Linked DNA regions of Homo sapiens: regions 1, 2 and 3 are each linked to region 4. Evidence: promoter capture Hi-C in 16 types of primary human blood cells and fetal thymus (Javierre and others, 2016). All regions are on one chromosome and are shown on one strand. The core of a region is centred on a gene start or on the middle of the fragment in contact, and the rest is flanking DNA. Distances in the headings are between cores, read along the strand shown.

The links. The method cuts DNA at HindIII sites, captures the fragments that hold promoters and counts their contacts. A CHiCAGO score of 5 or more calls a contact.
Region 1: a fragment that was not itself captured here is called in contact with the fragment with the promoter of LIME1 in region 4 in 1 of 17 cell types (monocytes); the score reaches 5.9 in monocytes.
Region 2: a fragment that was not itself captured here is called in contact with the fragment with the promoter of LIME1 in region 4 in 1 of 17 cell types (monocytes); the score reaches 6.0 in monocytes.
Region 3: a contact is called between a fragment that was not itself captured here and the fragment with the promoter of LIME1 in region 4, in 5 of 17 cell types (naive CD4 T cells, M2 macrophages, monocytes and 2 more). The highest score is 7.4, in naive CD4 T cells.

What each region holds. Positions count from the first base shown.
Region 1 is chr20:63,596,979-63,600,190 of GRCh38, forward strand. GMEB2 (glucocorticoid modulatory element binding protein 2) reads right to left here. Exons shown (of 10, transcript NM_012384.5): 5 at 779-882. Among named protein-coding and RNA genes, the nearest start is that of HELZ2, 24 kb to the left of the region's middle. RefSeq lists an enhancer at 828-997. The HindIII fragment of the contact is 2,033 bases long and covers 910-2,942 here.
Region 2 is chr20:63,936,025-63,939,102 of GRCh38, forward strand. No RefSeq gene overlaps it. Among named protein-coding and RNA genes, the nearest start is that of MIR1914, 4.0 kb to the right of the region's middle. The HindIII fragment of the contact is 5,075 bases long and covers 1-3,078 here.
Region 3 is chr20:63,577,161-63,580,343 of GRCh38, forward strand. No RefSeq gene overlaps it. Among named protein-coding and RNA genes, the nearest start is that of HELZ2, 4.5 kb to the left of the region's middle. The HindIII fragment of the contact is 4,805 bases long and covers 1-3,183 here.
Region 4 is chr20:63,735,380-63,738,334 of GRCh38, forward strand. It overlaps LIME1 (Lck interacting transmembrane adaptor 1), which reads left to right and starts at 1,285. Exons shown (of 6, transcript NM_017806.4): 1 at 1,285-1,333; 2 at 2,154-2,268; 3 at 2,442-2,523; 4 at 2,594-2,681; 5 at 2,804-2,955. The coding sequence starts at 2,171. It overlaps ZGPAT (zinc finger CCCH-type and G-patch domain containing), which reads left to right. Exons shown (of 7, transcript NM_181485.3): 6 at 1-185; 7 at 402-763. The coding sequence ends at 540. RefSeq lists enhancers at 711-890, 1,470-2,386, 2,586-2,955 and silencers at 2,321-2,540, 2,611-2,760, 2,841-2,900. The HindIII fragment of the contact is 14,127 bases long and covers 1-2,955 here.

The DNA of each region.
Region 1 (3,212 bases), core at 676-3,175, 140 kb before region 4:
TGCACTCCAGCCTGGGCAACAGAGCAAGACTCCCTCTCAAAAAAAAAGTGAAAGAAAGGACAGAAATAAGGAGTAACATAAAAGGCCAAAATCTGATGCACAAATACCAGATTATACCTTTCTTTTATTTTTTATTTTCAGAATGCATAATTGGAACAGACCCTTTTCTTTTCCTTTTTATTCTTGTTTTTTTTTTTTTTTGAGACAGAGTCTCACTCTGTAACCCAAGCTGTATTGCAGTGGCACAATCACAGCTCACTGCAGCCTTGACTTCCAGGCTCCAGTGATCCTTCCACCTTAGCCTCTCGAGCAGCTGGGACCACAGGCATATGTCACCAAATCCAGATAATTTTTTTTTTATTTTTAGTAGAGATGAGGTCTCATTATTGTGCCCAGGCTGGTCTCAAACTCTTGGCGTCAAGTGATCCTCCTGCCTCAGCCTCCTAAAGTGTTGGGATTGCAGGTGTGAGCCATGTGCCCAGCCAACCCTTTATTTTACAACGCTGAAACAGTCACAAGTGCCTTCAGGTAAAGAATTGGTGGAAATTAAAATGACTGACAAAACAATTCTAAAAATCTGATAGTGTCCCTGTTGGCAGGAGTGTGGGAGACGGGTTTACAGTTTTGGGTGTGAGCAGGTGCAGCAGCCACCCGGGAGGTTGTCAGCACTCACCACATCTAAAATACGCCTCATCTTCAAAATCCCAAAACCCCACAAGAAAGCAAGAGCTGCCAGGGCCCCTTCCAGCAGGGAGGCTGACCCTGCGCCAGCGCCCACCTGAGCATGATGCCGTTCATGCGGATGGCTCTCTTCCAGTCCTTCAGGGTGGACTTCCCGGCCAGGTGCACAAATTCCTTTGGGCTGATTACATGCTCGTCGTACTGTGGGGGACACAGTCATGTGGGTCAAGCTTGGCCGGGACACCACATAGGGTGCCCCCATCTCCCATCCGACCCTGAGTCAGGCGCGCAAGGCAGGAAAAGCGCCACGGCACGGCTCTGACCGGTGCAGGCCTCCTACAGAGCATTCAGGTAAAACAAGGACATGACCCACAGGCACGGTGGCTGCAGTGGGGAGTGGTGTCTCCTCCAGCCCTGAGGGGGCAGAGCTGCTGTGTGCCTGGGGCTAGACAGGGCTGGGCTGACCACACCAGGTAGAAGGTGTGTGGCCTTCTCTTCCTCCAGGCAGACTAAGCAAACTGCTTCTGTGCAATGTATTTTATAAATACACGTTATTGCATACGTTACATCGCAGATGGCAACAGATGCCAGCACATGGGTGGAGCTGTGAACGCCACCTTCCTCAGGTCCCTCCTGACACCACCTTGCCCCGTGCAGCAAACACCGGCACCTGCTCTCACTCTGACACACACACACACACACACACACACACACTCATCTGTTTCTAAGCCAGGGGAACCCTCCTGCTTGCTAATTTCACCCATGTGGGAGCTCAGAGAAACTGAGAAGGTAAAATATCCTGTTCAATCTTGTTACACAAGCAATTATTGAAACCAAAAACTGGAATAAAACTGCATTTACTTAGAAAACAAGCAGGCTGGGGATGGAGGAGTCACGAGGTCTCTGCAGCTGGACCCAGGAGGCCCGAGTACGGGGGCCGCCTCCACCCCCGGGCCGTGCCCAAGTCTAGCTTGCTGAAGGAAGTGATGTTCCCAATCCCTGAGCCCACCCTCTCATGACCCCTGTGCCACAGACGGGAACACTAAGCCCAGCCAGTCTCTGGCTCTCCCTCATGCGGCTGATCAGGGAGATCCCATAGAAGTCCAGAAGGTGGAATCCAGAAGATTCTCTGGCCACTGTCGGAGCCTGGCAGGAAGGCTGCACTGGCTGTGACTGAGGCTGCTTCCGGCCATCACTTCTACCCAACGTGGCTCACACCTAGGAAACTCAACTGCACCCAAAGGGCCTGATCCTACCTAGGGCTCTGGGCTCAGCCAGCCTCACCTCCCTGCCCCTCCTAGGCCTGCCTCTTTCCTTTCTTGCTTTCACCTTTGTTACTCTTCTCACCCCAGGTTTTCCTCTCCCAGCTAGGAAGCTACATGCTGTACTCTCATGAGTGGCTCCAGGAGCTTCAGCATGTCACGCTTACCAGAGCTGCCAGAGCCCAGAGCTAACGCGGCCACTCCTGACCCCCCAGAGCTAACGCAGCCGCTCCTGACCCTCCAGCGCTAACGCGGCCCGCTCCTGACCCCCCGGAGCTAACGTGGCCGCTCCTGACCCCCCGGAGCTAACTCGGCCCGCTCCTGACCCTCCAGACCACAGCCACGTGGCCCTGCTCTCATCTCTGAGGCCCTCCAGGGCGTCTCTCTCGATGCTGAATAGACAGGACTGGTCGGGTGACCCACGTTTCCCCGACTCTTCACACCTCCTCACAGCACAGCGCTTCCATCTGGAGGCCTCCTATCTCCGCCTGCAATGCATATTTAGAACATCCTTCCATCATGATCTGCTGGTGGCAAACTCGTGTCTTTTTCTGGAAACGTCTTTCTTCCAGCATAATTTCAAAGACGACCTCACGGTGTCGTCACTCGCCACACAGTGAGGCTCTGGCGCTGCCACCTCTGCTCCTGCGCTGCTTTCGGGAGCTCACGGCCGGCGGGATTCTTGCTACTGAGCGATCCGTCTCTCCTCCTGGCTAGACTGAGGATCTTCTCTGTCCCCGTCCTTCTGGAATTTCATTATGATGTCACCTATGGTACATTTCTTTCGTGTTTCCAACTTCTAATTCTAATACAATTTCAAACTCACAGGGTAATTGCCAGGATAGTCCAGGGAGCTCTCACACGTGCGTTCCGGACTCACTGCCTGCTCCCGTCTGCCCCCTTGCCCCCGCCTAGACCTGTGCACGTGCAGCTACTGAGAGTGAAGCAGAGACGTCGGGCCCCTGGGCCCTCAACACTTGTGTATATTTCCTAAGAACAAGCTTCTCTTACGCAGCCACAGAACAACTCGCATCAGGAAATTATCATTCATACATTATTCTCTAATCCATTGTCCATAGTCAAATTCATGAATTGTTCCAATGATAGCCTTTATTGCAAAAAAAAAATTTTTTTTTTTGAGATGGAGTCTCACTCTGTCGTCCAGGCTGGAGTGCACTGGTGCAATCTTGGGCTCACTGCAACCTCCGCCTCCCGGGTTCAAGAGATTCTCTTGCCTCAGCCTCCCGAGTAGCTGGGAGTACAGGCACA
Region 2 (3,078 bases), core at 30-2,529, 200 kb after region 4:
GACCCCACGTATGTCTTACTCGCTAGTCCCGCAGATCCCTGGTTTTGGAGAGCAGCAGCTGATCTCAGCCCTCCACACCCCTTGCGGCTGGAACCTTGCTTCCCTCCTGCCTGGTCCAGATGTGGATAAATGCCCCCTCCTCTTGATTGTGTTTTCACCTCCGTTTTCTAAATACCAAGACTGGAGCAAAGAGGCCAAGCGTGGTGGCTCATGCCTATAATCCCAGCACTTTGGGAGGCCAGTGTGGGAGGATTGCTTTGAGCCCAGGAGTTCAAGACCAACCTGGGCAACAGTGAGATCGTGTCTCTACAAAAAAGAGTTTAAAATTATCTGGGTGTAGCCGTGCCTGAGGTCCCAGCTCGTCAGGAGGGAAATCACTTGAGCATGGGAAGTCCACGCTACAGTGAGCTGTGGTCACACCACCGAACTCCAGCCTGGGTGACAGAGGGAGATCCTGTCAACAAACTAACAAAAACTCAGAATAACGTAACAAACATCTTGAAATCCTCTATTCTGACTTAAGAAAAACGAAGGAAGGGCCAGGCATGGTGGCTCACGCTTGTAATCCCCAGCACTTTGGGAGGCCGAGGTGGGTGGATCATGAGGTCAGGAGATCTGAGACCATCCTGGCCAACATGGTGAAACCCCGTCTTTACTGAAAATACAAAAAAAATTAGCTGAGCGTGGTGGTGCGTGCCTGTAGTCCCAGCTACTCAAGAGGCTTAGGCAGGAGAATCGCTAGAACCCGGGAGGTGGAGGTTGCAACGCACCGAGATCGTGCCACCGCTCTCCAGCCTGGGTGGGAGAGCGAGACTCCGTCTCAAAAAAAAAAAAAAATTTGAGTCAGATTTTCCATTTTAAAAAAATGGCAGCATCCAAGACCGTTTTGCGTCTCTCCCCATTTCCATCCTCTGCTTCCATAGCTTTAAACTCTGTCTACCACTGTCAGGTCCAGTAAGACGTACTATTGGTTTATACCTTTTTACATAAATTGTACTACACCATAGTACTGAGTACACCACCTGCCTTATGAGTTTGTTTGTTTTTTTTTTTTTTGAGATGGAGTCTCGCTCTGTCACCCAGGCTGGAGTGCAGTGGCGCGATCTTGGCTCACTGCAACCTCCGCCTCCTGGGTTCACGCCATTTAGGAAAACGCATGCCTCACCCTCCCGAGTAGCTGGGACTACAGGCGCCCGCCACCACGCCTGGCTAATTTTTTGTATTTTTAGTGGAGATGGGGTTTCACCGTGTTAGCCAGGATGGTCTCGGATCTCCTGACCTTGTGATCTGCCCACCTCGGCCTCCCAAAGTGCTGGGATTACAGGCATGAGCCACCGCGCCCGGCCTGTTTTTGTTTTTGAGACGGAGTCTTTGTGGCCCAGGCTGGAGTGCAGTGGCACAATCTCGGCTCACTACAACCTTCATCTCCTGGGTTGAAGTGATTCTTGTGCCTCAGCCTCCTGAGTAGCTGGGATTACAGGCATGTGCCACCACGCCTGGCTAACTTTTTGTATTTAGTAGACGGGGTTTCACCATGTTGGCCAGCCTGATCTTGAACTCCGGACCTCAGGTAATCCGCCCGCCTCGGCCTCCCAGGGTGCTGGGATTACAGGCGTGAGCCACTGCACCAGGCCTAAGTTTTTCATTTGATACAGTAGTAGTTAAGAAATCAAGCCGTGTGGTTATATTAGGTCTGGTTCATTTTAGCTTCTGTACAGAACAGTCACGAATTAATCACAGTCGGTCCTGGGCAAACTGACCACAGGTTTTTAGTTTCTCACTGTGGAAACAAAGCTGCCTGAATGTCGCTGCTGAGTTGTCTCGGGTGGGATCGCTGGGAGCGGGATCTGGAAGCCTTCCCTTGACTGGTGGCCCCACACTGCCCTGCAAAGAGGCTCCCCATCTTCTCGCTGCCCCTTCTAGCCTTAGCGTTGTCAGACGTTTTTTTCTGGCTTGGTCTTTGAATTTTCTTAATTAAGTAGAATCCACGTTTATTAAGTTCAGTTTTTTTTTTCTTTTTCCTTTGAGACAGAGTCTTGCTCTGTCATCCAGGCTGGTGTGCAATGGCGCGATCTCGGTTCACTGCAGCTTCCGCCTCCTGCGTTCAAGCGATTCTTGTACCTCAGCCTCCCGAGTAGCTGGGACTAAAGGCGCGCCACCACGCCCAGCTAATTTTTTGTATTTTTAGTAGAGACGGGGGTTTCACCATGTTGGCCAGGCTGGTCTCGAACCTATGTAGGCCTCCCAAAGTGCTGGGATTACAGGTGTGAGGCAGCGCGCCCGGCCTATGTTAAGTATTTTATATATGGGATTCTTACAGAGAAATGTTAACAGCAAGCCGAGCACTGGACACTGGGTGGCGGGCAGCAAGACCCTTGCCAGGGAGGGTTGTCGGCCCTGTTTCTCCTGGTCCAGGGGACCGCGGTTAACAGGCGCTGCGGCAAAACTCTCCGTCCGCCCAGCGCCCCAGGAATCTCCTCCGTCTCCAAGACGGGGTCGGACCACCCTCCCCGCTCCCCCCGGCTATGCCTTCCTTGCGCCCCGCTCTCCGTGACCGAGGAACGCCAGGAAGGGACCACTTCTAGCGCCAGCCCCGCTGCTCAGGGTCGGGTGGGGGGCGGGGCCAGCGCGGGGGCGGGGCCGGCTCAGGGGCGTGGTCACTCGGTGGGGCCCAGCGGGACCTGGCCTACCAGGCGGAGCGGGGGCTGGGCAGGGGCGTGGCCAATCGGGACCGGTGGGGCGGGCGAGTGGCGGGAGCGCTGCACCCGCAGATGGGCCCCCCACGTGGGGACCAGCGCCCACCCGGCCTGGTCGCATGGGCAATGGGAGACCCCACTGCAGCGCAAGGTCTCGCGGCATCTGGGAAGACCGGCCTTACGCCGTCCCTCCCTTCGTCAGCAGACCCCTGTCCAGGATCCGGGATCCGGCATAATCGAGGTGCCAGGCTCCGAGGACGCCACGCTTTTGGCCGTGGACTTCCACGCAGAAAGACACTGGCGCCTGAGAGGACGGGGACGACCGTGTCCCGTGTCAGATGCGCCTGGCCCACGGCTGAGTCCCCAGCATCAGCCCTCAGCT
Region 3 (3,183 bases), core at 393-2,892, 160 kb before region 4:
TCCTGACCTCGTGATCCACCCACCTCGGCCTCCCAAAGTGCTGAGATTACAGGCGTGAGCCACCGCGCCTGGCCCTGATCTCTCTAATATTTTAAAGATCTTATAAATTAAGAAAAAGATGTATAATTTAAAAGAAAAATAGGCAAAGGATGCAAATCAATACTTCACAAAACGTGGAAAGTGAAATTGCTGTAAATGGAGTGAAGTGTTCAACCTCGGCGTAAGGGAAACGCAAACCAGCCCCAGACAACCCGTCCACCCCTCTGACATTGCAGGCACTCGGCCAGAGTCTAAACTGGCAGCACCGCTCTGGAAACCAGCCAGGCCCGGGAGCACAGGACACGCGCCTTCCACGTGGCTCCACAGAGGCTCCTGCACAGAGGGACATCTGTGCCCACCAACAGCTCCCGGCAGCTCCTTCTACACCCAATGGACCGGGAATGCCCAGGGCCCCTCGCTCAGGGTCTATGTAATGGGCAGTCTCCACCCTGTGCCATGGAAGACTCTAAGGCCATTAAAAATGAGGTTGGCCAGGCACGGTGGCTCACACCTGTGATCCCAGCAATTTGGTAGGCTGAGGCGGGAGGATCACTTGAGCCCAGGAGTTCAAGACCTCAGTAAGCTGTGATGGTGCCAGTGCACTCCAGCCTGGGAGACAGATCAGGACTGTGCGGCCAGGACAGGAGGGAGATGTCCTGTTTCCGCCCACCTTTCACATCTGTGCACGTCTTCTTAACTCAAAACAAAAACAAAAAGTGCCACCTCGAGTCCACAGAGCATTGAAAACCTGCAGGTTGCCGTGGACAGCTCTCTGGCTCCCGTCCAGCTGTGCTCAGGCCACAGTGACCCCTAACACGGGCTGAGTGTGAGACCACGGGAGAGAGTTCCACGTACACACAGCACACGGCCAACACGCTCACACGGGCTGAGTGTGACACCACGGGACAGAGTTCCACGTACACACAGCACACGGCCAACAACACGCTCACACGGGCTGAGTGTGAGACCACGGGACAGAGTTCCACGTACACACAGCACACGGCCAACAACACGCTCACACGGGCTGAGTGTGAGACCACGGGAGAGAGTTCCACGTACACACAGCACACGGCCAACAACACGCTCACACGGGCTGAGTATTAGTAATATTATTGTATCCACGTCAGCTTCCTGACTTTGTAACAGACAGCTTCCACGTTCTGAGGAAACACACCTTGAAGTGATGGGGTAAAGGGTGAAGGGTGAAGGGTGAAGGGGTATCGTATCTGAAAGGTGAAGGGGTATCGTGTCTTAGTCTCAATTGCCTGGAACTACAGGCTTCTACAGAACCGGCAAATGGGCCAGAACAAAGCGACTGGTGAGTCCGCATAGAGCACAGGGAGTCCTTTGTTCTATTTTTGCAACATTTGTGTACGTTTGTTTAAATTATTATATCAAAATACAAAGTAAGAAATGTCTGCCCAACACCCTCAGCTTGTCTCATCCCGGTCCCTAGGTCCTCCTCACCCAGCGTCCCTGCCAGTGGGTTCCATGGCCCCCCAGTGCCAGCCTGCCGTCTGCTGCCCTCTGCCGTCTGCCATCACCTGAACCCTGCAGGAAAACGTACACACTGTCCCCAGCGTCACGAAGCAGGTGGAGGTCCCCAGGGCTTAGGGCCAGGCCTCAGTTTACCTGTGACTGTGGGCCATGTGCTCTCGGGCAGGAACTGACGGCCTCTGGGTATAACTCGCTTAAGCAGGTCTTTAACACCCGGTTCCCATCTTTCCAGAGACCCTCCCGGGCGCCCTCCCACCAGCCAAAAGCTCACACCCCTAGTGGAGGAGGTGATAGGGTCTGCAGTGGGAGGGAGTGGAGCCGATTTCAGATCTCCTCCTCTTGGCCTTGTGGGAGCCGTGCAGCCGGGAGGCCTCCTTCGAGATGAGCCCCTGGGGAGAAAGTCAGGGGGACCACACCTTCTCCTTGCAGGGGTGCCAGAAGGATCTGATGGGGGTTTAGTCCCAGGATGGGTCTACGCCCCCCGGGGCCTCCCAGCTGCTCTGTCCTCTCTCCCTGCCTGGCCTCTGCACACACAGCCATGTGCGTGTGACATTGTGAAATATACATTAACATATTTGGTCTCGTCCCGTTTCCTGGCAAAAACCCCTAAAATCCCTGGAGTAGCCAAAGTGGCAAGTGCCTTTTTGTGCTGATATTGACCGAAGGCTGGCAGCCTGGAGGCAGCCTCAGGATGGGGCTGGTCCTCAGAAAGGCCTCAGCAGGAGTAGAGGGTGGTACTTGCAGCCTTGCCCCAACCTCCAGGCAGGGGAGGGGAGAGGCGGCTGAAGGCGGTCCTCACCAGTGGCCAGTGACGTAATCAATCATGCCTGGGTAATGAAGCCTCCATGAAGTCGCAAAAGGACAGGGCTCAGAGAGCCGTGGAGGTTCCTGGACGGGGTGCCCTTGTGGGGTGAAAGCTCTGCGCCCCTCCCCTTACGCATCTCTTCATCTGCGTCCTTTGTAACGTCCTTTATAATAAATGGGTAAACATGTTTCCCTGAGTTCTGTGAGCTGCTCTAGGAAATTAATCTGACCCAAATATGGGGGTTAGGAACCTCAATTTATAGCCAATTGGTCTGAAGCACCCGGGGCTTGAGATTGGCATGGGGAGTGGGCAGCAGCCTTGTGTGGACATCTCCAGGTAGATGAGGATGTCTAAGGACAGATGGCGTCTCCAGCTAGATGGTGTCTCCAGGTAGACAACAACGTCTATGAATTGACGGTGTCTCCAGGTTAACAACAATGTCTCCAGGTTAACAACAATGTCTCCAGGTAGACAACAATGTCTATGAATTGATGGTGTCTCCAGGTTGACAACAATGTCTATGAATTGATGGTGTCTCCAGGTTGACAACAGTGTCTCCAGGTAGACAACAATGTCTCCAGGTTAACAACAATGTCTATGAAAAGACGGTGTCTCCAGGTAGACAACAATGTCTATGAATTGATGGTGTCTCCAGGTTGACAACAATGTTTCCAGGTTAACAACAATGTCTATGAATAGACGGTGTCTCCAGGTTGACAACAATGCCTATGAATAGATGGTGTCTCCAGGTTAACAATAATGTCTCCAGGTAGACAACAACGTCTATGAATTGATGGTGTCTCCAGGTTGACAACAATGTCTCCAGGTTAACAACAATGTCT
Region 4 (2,955 bases), core at 35-2,534:
CAGGCTCCTGGGGCCCTAGAAGCCGGGGCGGCCCCAGCGGGGAGGAGGAGCAAGGACATGTACCATGCCAGCAAGAGTGCCAAGCGGGCCCTGAGCCTGCGGCTCTTCCAGACTGAGGAGAAGATCGAGCGAACCCAGCGGGACATCAGGAGCATCCAGGAGGCTCTCGCCCGCAACGCTGGCCGGTACGTGTGGGGCCCAGCTCAGGGCAAAGGGCGACCCAGGGTGGCCCTGCCCCCGGGATACATGCTGGAGGTCACCTGACCCAAGCATAGCGGGCTGAGTCCAGGAGGGGTCTGCATGTTGGAGGACGGGCAGCGGGCACACAGGCAGTGGGTACGGCAGACTGGGGTTGGTGGCATGGCCCAGGACCCCACGCTGACTAGTGAGCCCCTCCGCAGGCATAGCGTGGCGTCAGCCCAGCTGCAGGAGAAGCTGGCAGGAGCCCAGCGCCAGCTGGGGCAGCTCCGGGCTCAGGAAGCCGGCCTGCAGCAGGAGCAGAGGAAGGCAGACACCCACAAGAAGATGACTGAGTTCTAGAGACCCCACAAGCACTATGGACGAAGCGTGGGACCCCAGCACGGGCTGCCCTCAGGAAGACCAGTGTTGCCCGAGGAGGGGCCGGCCTGCTGGCCTGGGGCGTGCAGACACTGCTGAGTGGAGACAGAGCTGCGGGGTCCCATCTGGACACTTACTTGCCCACCTGCCAGTGTCTTGGGCATTTCCTTGGCAAGGACATTAAAGTGATTTCATCACAGTGTCATTCAGTGGAGATCAGCTGGCTGCAGGGTCTCTGGGGAGAGAAGGGTCTGTGCAGGGCTGTGGTGAGAGACGGGCTGGGCTGGAGGGGCCTAGGAGGCCGGCATTCTCCCTTCTTACCCTTCTCTGACCAAGGCAGATCGGAGGCCAGGGTGCCCGCCAGGCTGCCTGACACCCACAGATGGGTGGAGCTCAGTGCTGCTCCAGCGGGCGAGACGGGCGGGAGAGGACTGTGGCCCACCACGTGGGGCACTCTTGGTGAGGCAGGCGGACCTGGCCCTGTGGGTTTGGGGGTTCTGTGCCAGCTCTGCTCACGTCTTCGTGTGTGGAGGGGTTGTGAGTTAGGCTGTCAGAACAGTGCGGGCTAGAGGCGCACACGTTTCATCTAGGCTTCGGGCGGGGCGCAGCAGGTGGGTGAGGCTGCGGTGGTGGCTGCTGCCCAGGGTGGGAGGCTCAGGGGAGGCGCTTGGCGACAGGAGCAGGAAGTGATGAGGTGGGGAGCTCAGCCGAGGGCTGCACAAAGACCTTCCTGGCCTGCCCCAGACAGAGCTGAGGACCCCTGGCCGTGGGCTTGGTAAGTGCCCTCCTGGGGGGCAGCTGGGGTCTGGGAGGCCTTGGGATGTGGCTGCAGCTGGGTCAGTCAGCCAGGCTGAAGCCCACTCCCTGGGTCTGAGCAGACTGGCCCCAAACTCCAGAGACCACCCCTCACCCCCCAGCTTCTGTCTCTGCTGCTGGACTGTGCTGTTTGTAAGGCATCCCCCACCCCGAGAAGTTCTGCTAAGATCCCCAAGAAGGGGACAGATCCTCTCTGGCAGAGACACTGGCAGACAAGAAGAGCCAGAGAGAAGTGGGGTGGGGGCATCAGCACCCCCAGCAGCTGCTGCTGCCTGCTGACCCAGCCTCCAGCTCCTCCGGGTGCAGGGTCCCTCCTGCTGACCAGCCTCCAGCTCTTCCCAGTTCTGGGCTCCGCAGCGAGCGGCTTGGGGGCACTACCTGACACAGGAGACCATGTCTGGGCAGAGGGTGGCTGCAGGTGGAGTCTGTGGCCTGTGGCGCACACCCAGGGGCTCCCCCGATGCTGGTTACTATCTGGGCTATGGTGGCCACAGCTGTCTTGCCCCTCCTCACGGCCGTGCTGGGTGTTACCGTGGTCACCCGCAGGGACACGGAGGGGCCAGGCAGAGCAGCCCTAGTTCACCTCACCGGGAGCCCCCGCCAGAAGGTGGGCACCTCTGGGAGGGAGGGACTGCCAGGCCTTGGGGCTTCCTGTGCTGAGTCAGAGCTGGAACGGGAGACGCAGGAGCCCCGCAGCCGCGGGAGGTGCAGATTTGGGGCTGCCAGGTGGCGCCAGGTCCCCTTGGCCAGCCCCCAGCGCCCCTTTCTTCTGTCCCCAGGGCCTCGGCTTCACAGGATGGGGCTGCCAGTGTCCTGGGCCCCTCCTGCCCTCTGGGTTCTAGGGTGCTGCGCCCTGCTCCTCTCGCTGTGGGCGCTGTGCACAGCCTGCCGCAGGTAGGTCCCTCAGCCGCGTTCTGTCTGGGGCCTCGCTGCGGCTGCCATTCACAGCCCAGCGCGGGAAGGGGCTGGAGGCAGGTCCGCGCACCCAGCTCGGCACGCGCGCCTGCACCGGGCCTTGGACCCGAGGCTGACGACCCCGCCCCCCGCCCCCCACCTCTACCCCCAAGGCCCGAGGACGCTGTAGCCCCCAGGAAGAGGGCGCGGAGGCAGCGGGCGAGGCTGCAGGGCAGTGCGACGGCGGCGGAAGCGGTGAGTGCCAGGCTGTCCCGGGGACCAGGGTGGGGTCCGCAGGGCACCGACCAGCCTTCCTCGCCCCCAGTCCCTACTGAGGCGGACCCACCTCTGCTCCCTCAGCAAGTCGGACACCAGACTGCACGAGCTGCACCGGGGCCCGCGCAGCAGCAGGGGTGAGCAGAGGGCGGGGCGGGGGCGGCCGGGCGGGGCTTACTGTGCAGCGCGTGCCAACCCCTGGGCCAGACCCGCTCCTGCCCCCTGCCCGGAGTGAACTCTGCCCTGACCCCACCCCCAGCCCTGCGGCCTGCCAGCATGGATCTCCTGCGCCCACACTGGCTGGAGGTGTCCAGGGACATCACCGGACCGCAGGCAGCCCCCTCTGCCTTCCCACACCAGGAGCTGCCCCGGGCTCTGCCGGCAGCTGCAGCCACCGCAGGGTGCGCTGGC